2 separate regions of the Homo sapiens genome follow, and region 1 is linked to region 2. Evidence: promoter capture Hi-C in human tissues and cell types (Jung and others, 2019). All regions are on one chromosome and are shown on one strand. Each heading gives the region's core, a stretch centred on a gene start or on the middle of the fragment in contact. The rest is flanking DNA. Distances are from core to core; before and after follow the strand shown.

Region 1 (3,276 bases), core at 128-2,627, 1.3 Mb before region 2:
TCCATTCTCCCCTCCCTCCCAGGTACTCCTGAGGCAGAGGTTGGTGGGAGGAACTCCACCATTTTCTCTCAATTAAGAACCAAACTGATGTGCACATCAATTCGTGCAAACAGTTCTTGGGGTAAGGGGGTGGAGAGCACCCAAATCCCCTCCCAGTGGTGTTGCAGCTTCAGCTCGGGTTGGACAAGAGCTTCCATAAGCATTATCTCAATCAATCCACAATCTTATGAGCCAGTTAGTATTATCTTATGAGCTAGTTAGTATTATCCTATCTCATAGTTTAAAAAAAGATTTCAGTATGAAATGTTCAGTATTAAAACAGAAGAGACTAGGCCGGGCACAGTGGCTCATGCCTGTAATCTCAGCACTAGGCCGAGGTGGGCGGATCACGAGGTCAAGAGATTGAGACCATCCTGGCCAACATGGTGAAACCCCGTCTCTACTAAAAATATGAAAATTAGCTGGGCGTGGTGGCAGGTGCCTGTAGTCCCAACTACTCAGGGGGCTAAAGCAGGAGAATCACTTGAACCCCGGAGGCGGAGGTTACAGTGAGCTGAGATTGCTCCATTGCACTCCAGCCTGGTGACAGAGCGAGACTCCATCTCAAAATAAAACAACAACAACAAAAAACAGAAGAGACTAAACCTGTTCAACAGGCAGCAAATTTAGTGCATTCCTGTCTGCCATCTTCAGCCAGGGATTTGGTTATCTTTTTTTGTTTTTTTTATGTTTTTGTATTTTTAATAAACATTTCTTCTGATTACAAAAATATGAGTTATGTATTTTTAAATTATTTTGACTATAATTTTTAATGTTGTAGAACTATTATTGGGTTTTTCTTTTTTATTTTATTATTATTATACTTAAAGTTTTAAGGTACATGTGCACAATGTGCAGGTTAGTTACATATGTATACATGTGCCATGCTGGTGTGCTGCACCCGTTAACTCGTCATTTAGCATTAGGTATATCTCCTAAAGCTATCCCTCCCCCCTCCCCTCACCCCGGATTTGGTTATCTTAAGGCACATAACTAGAATGCCTGGACACCTGCATGTAAACCTCCCTTTGTGGCTTCCTTTTTCCAGTGAATTGTTTAAGCATATCCCTGCTGATCCCCTATCTTTGCTGCCTATGGTCTTTTATGGCCCCTGATAGGATCCCAGACCACCCCCTGGTATGTAAAAGTTTTAGACAACTTAGGGTCTGTGAAAACAAGATGCCAATCTTGGCTCCCAAAAGACTAAGATAGAAGGAAGAGTCAGGGTCTGGCTTAGTTGTGTTGTTTACCCTGAATGGAAGGAAGAAAATGAGGTTCTGGAAAACATGGATGTAAAAAGCTTTCTATCTTGCCATCCATCATGGATAGAGAAGGGGATTTTTGAGATTTAGATAAACCTGGGCCAAAATGCTTGCCTGGTTTTATCCTTTCTTTCTTTCTTTTTTTTTTTTTTTTTTTTTTTGAGATGGAATCTCGCTCTGTCACCCAGGCTGGCGTGCAATGGCGTGATCTCAGCTCGCTGCAACCGCCTTCTCCCAGGTTCAAGCGATTCTCCTGCCTCAGCCTCCCAAGTAGCTGGGATTACAGGCACCTGCCACCATGCCCAGCTAATTTTTGTATTTGTAGGAGAGACAGGGTTTCACCATGTGGGTCAGGCTGGTCTCAAGTTCCTGACCTCAAGTGATCTGCCTGCCTTGGTCTCCCAAAGTGCTGGGATTGCAGGCATGAGCCATCACGCCCGGTCTATTCATCTTTTTAAAGGAGGCTCATTAGTCACAGGACGCCATAACTTCTAAGGGGCAGGTATTGGTGTCCAACCATAGATGAGGAAACAGAGGCTCAGAGAGGCAAGTTCACACAGCTGGGCCAAGCCAGGAACAGATCACCCCAAACCAAAAAGTTTGAATTTAGAGCCCTCACTTTAGGCCTGGAGGGTTATAAAGAAGGCTTTCCTCAAGCGCTAAAGCTGTGTGCTCGTAATGGCTGGAATTTCCCAGGGCCTGGGAAGAGAATTCCAGGGGATCCTGGACTTATATGAGAAATAATCATCTGTATTTTCACAAATCTCCAACTGAAATTTAGCATTTTCTTCTATTATGAATGTAGGCAACAAACCACAGGAATGTTAGCCATACCTGGGACTTTGTTAGCAATGGAAATCACTGATATTTTCATAGCATATCTCAAAATATCACTTACATTCATTGCTTTTTCCAAGTTAGGGTAGTTATTAAGCCTGTGCTGGATTTTATTATCTGCCTTAGTAAAGGAGCTGACATTTTTCTATATCATAATCAATTTTTTTTTTTTTTTTTTTGAGACGGAGTCTCACTCTGTCACCCAGGCTGGAGTGCAGTGGTGCAATCTCGGCTCACTGTAGCCACCTCCTCCCAGGTTCAAGTGATTCTCCTGCCTCAGCTTCCTTGGATTACAGGTGCCCACCACCACGCCAGGCTAATTTCTGTATTTTTAGTAGAGACGGGGTTTCACCATGTTGGCCAGGCTGGTCTTGAACTCCTGACCTCAAGTGATCCACCCACCTCGGTCTCCCAGTGTAAGCCACTGCACCTGGCCAATTTTTAAAAAACATATTGAAAGTCAGAAGTGGTGGCTCGTGCCTGTAATCCCAACACTTTGGGAGGCTGAGACTGGAGGTTTGCTTGAGGCCGGGAGTTTGAGACCAACCTGGGCAACAAAGTGAGACCCCCATCTCCACAAAAAATATAAAAATTAGCCAGGCATGGTGGTGTGTGCCTGTAGTCCCAACTACTCGGGAGCCTGAGGTGAGAGGATCACTTGAGCCCAGGAGTTCAAGGCTGCCATAAGCCATGACTGTGCCATTGCACTCTTGCTGGGTGACAGAGTGAGACCCTGTCTCAAAAAATATAGATAGATTATAGATCAATAGATAGATAACTGTATATCAATATAAATATTTTCCTTTGTAATTACATCGCATATAATTTCTGTAAATATACATTTATATAATATATACTATATATACACATATGTAATTTTATGTATTTTAAAACATTATTTGGCTCATCATTTGCAATAGCCAAAAGGTGGAAGCAACACAAGTATCTGTCAAGGGATAAATGGGTAAACAAAATGTGGTATATGCATACAATGGAATATTACTCATCCTTAAAAAGGAAGAAAATTCCAACACATGCTACAACATTCATGAACCTTGAGGACGAGATGCCAAGTGAAGTAGGCCAGTCGCAAAAGGATAAAGACTGCATAATTCCACTGAAATGAGGTGTCCAGAGT
Region 2 (3,006 bases), core at 268-2,767:
TATATTTGCAAAAATGTAAAATGTCACTTGTATTCTCTCAAGGCAGTTTTATTTAAAAAAAAATTTCCTCACATTGAATAGATTATAAAATAAAAATCAGATGCCCCATACTACGGTACCTAGCAACCCCCTTCACCCAACTCCCATGGGCTTCTCCCACACACTATTTCATCAGTCATCTAGGGAGTCTGTAAGGAATGGGTTATCCTTTCCCTTGCAAAACAGATAAAACTTGTGCACTTAATACGCTCAAAGAATGTGTTCAGTTAATTATAAAAAAATGAAAACTATTTGTTTTCATCATTTATTCCTTCAGTCTATATGGTAAAAGAATCCAATTCTCATTAAAAGTTACCATATCAACTCTAAGGAACTTGGTGAATCCATCCGATCACTATCACAGAGGAACTATCCCTTAATTACATGTACAGAGGGTCACCAAATTCCGCTTACAAAAGCTTTCCAACCATTCTATCATACCGGAGGAAAAAGTAATGTTTCTCCTATAGCTATACAAATAAATGTCGTTAGTTTTTCTATAGTTTTCCTGGGCTTTCCTGTTGACAGGCAATATTTCAAAAGAATATAAGATCTGTGATTTATCTTCCACGCCTTAGTTACGGAAAATGATGCTAATACGATAATTGGCTTAAGGTTACAACGCTGACGTTGGAATGTTTACTGCCAAACAAAAGGAGAAATTATACTTAATTTTAAAAAACATCTCAGGAAAGAACATACCCCTAAAAACGTAAATTAAAACTGGTAACATAATTAGACGGTCTCTTAGATAATAGTAATTCAGGTTTCCCCTCCATCGACAGTAACTACCAAGTTTTCCCATGAAATGGAGGTTAGGGACCAGCCTTAGAATACTGAGAAAGATAAGAGACTCCCCTAGAATCGAAAGAGGGAAGAGAAACCAGAGAACAGAAACATGGTGAGGAAAGAGAAAAAACAGCTCTAACGTGCCAAGGGGTCTATTAACAAGAAAAAGGCATTATTGAACCGATTTACCCAGGAGTAACCCGAGCCCAAACCCCCGCCGACCACGGGGCGAACTCCGAAGTCTACTGAAGAAAGCTCCAGAGCCCAGTGACAATGAGAACCGCTCTTCTCTAGGAGTGGGGGCTCTAAGAGGAGACCATGCCTTCCCTGAATCGCCTTCCAGTTTGCTCGTCAGGAGCAAGACCCACCTGGAGACCGCCATGGCCGGGCGCCGGCGGTTCGGAGCTCCCCGCGACCTACGCGCCGCGCAGCTGAGGCGCTAGTTTCCAGAGAGCTGAGCGGCGCAGGCCCAGGCCGCGGAGCACAGGGGAGCGGCCGGTGCGGCGTGGGGCGTTCCAGCGCAGGCCCTCGGGCATCTGCCCTGCCGCCTACCCGAGCTCGTCCCCGCGGCGGCCGGTAAGCAGGGGTCCAAGACGGTAGCGGAGGCGGCAGTCCTCCGACCCGCACGACTTCAAACCGGGTACCCTCAGCTCCGCTCTTTGCTGACGCGGGCGTCGGCACGCACAACTGAGCGTCAGCGCGCCGGAAGTGACGTAAGCTCACCGACAGGAGCTTAGCTCGGCGCGAGCGCCTTTGGTTTGGCGGCACGCGCCTAAATAAAAGCGCTTTGTGCTGATGTGGAGAGGGTGTCTAGTCTTAAAACTAGGGAAGGAGGTGAAGTAAGGGTCCCCTTATTTGACAGAGAAGGAAAAAGGCGATTTAGTCCAAGTCCTGGAACTTCGAAAGCTTGGTTTCTAATTCCACACTACCCAGATTCTGCTTCCCACCGTACTGCATCTAGGAAGCAAGATCAGAAGGACCTTAACATGCTCTTGTCCAGGTGGTGAAGCCAGTGGGAGGAGTGAAAGCAAAAAGTCGCTATGACACTGAAGAAATGGCTCAGATGTTTGTCATTATTTGCCAGAAGTTCTGCCTAGGTATTGGAGAGAAGGTCTTCTGACCAACGATTTTGCCAAGTTTGATTTCTCAATTGTTTATGTTGTTTGTACCATCATTTTCTCAGCCAGCCAGATTTGAAAACTACCATTTTTAAATTTTTGTTCCTTTGGGGGACTTATCTGGCTTTTCAATATTTTTAAGTTCATTAGGCTTTTAAACACTTCTGCCAGGCCCTTATCATCTTACACTTGATTTTTTTTTTTTGACCGAGTTTCGCTCTGTCGCCCAGGCTGGAGTGCAGTGGCGCGATCTCGGCTCACTGCCAACCTGCGCTTACCGGGTTCAAGCGATTCTAAATGTGCCTCAACCTCCCGAGTAGCTGGGAGGCACACGAGCCCCACGCCGGGCCAATTTTTTGTATTTTTTAGTAGAGACGGGGTTTCGCCATGTAGGCCAGGCTTGTCTCCTGCTCCTGGCCTCAAGTGATCTGCCCGCCTCGGCCTCCCAAAGTGCTGGGATTACAGGTGTGAGCCACTGCGCCCGGCCCTTAAACTTGATTTTTATGCTAGTAGTCAAAATAATATTTCTCCAATTTTCAGTTCAGCCCATTTTATAGGCCAACAGATTAATCTTCAAAAAACCTCACTGCTTTTTATCATGTCGCTCCTATGCTTATAAAGCATGTCCATTGGCTTCTCATTACCTGAAGAGGCTATGTCTCAATCCTTGAGTCTGTTTTTCATCTGTAAAATGAGGCTAATGAGAAGTACTGCAGAAGATTGTGGGAATAAAATGAGGTCATGAATCTAGAAGAGCTTACAAGAACTTTGTAAACCATAAAGTAGTATATATGTATGTAAAGAGAAAGAAACTAACAAGTACCTGCTGTGTGCTGGGCACATGACATGCATTATCCATATAATTTGTAGGGAAGCCTTGAAAAGTTAGTTTTAATCTTCGTAGACAAGGAAACTAAGCTCAGAAAGGTTAAGTAATTTGCCTCAAGATTCAAGCTAGTAATAATATTTATTGTCCAGTCATTCAACAAATGTTTGTCACCTCTCTGTATCAGAAACTCTGCTTGGCGGTGTTCATGCTATTAAAATCTAATCAAGTTGA

Evidence for each region. The method cuts DNA at HindIII sites, captures the fragments that hold promoters and counts their contacts. A contact is called where the count stands out against the background at its distance.
Region 1: a contact is called between a fragment that was not itself captured here and the fragment with the promoter of BTAF1 in region 2, in 1 of the 25 tissues and cell types used here (aorta).

What each region holds. Positions count from the first base shown.
Region 1 is chr10:93,250,990-93,254,265 of GRCh38, reverse strand. No RefSeq gene overlaps it. Among named protein-coding and RNA genes, the nearest start is that of CYP26A1, 180 kb to the right of the region's middle. The HindIII fragment of the contact is 7,279 bases long and covers 1-3,276 here.
Region 2 is chr10:91,922,281-91,925,286 of GRCh38, reverse strand. It overlaps BTAF1 (B-TFIID TATA-box binding protein associated factor 1), which reads right to left and starts at 1,517. Exons shown (of 38, transcript NM_003972.3): 1 at 1,197-1,517. The coding sequence starts at 1,210. RefSeq lists enhancers at 975-1,174, 1,785-1,894, 2,242-2,775 and a silencer at 1,235-1,534. The HindIII fragment of the contact is 3,578 bases long and covers 1-2,748 here.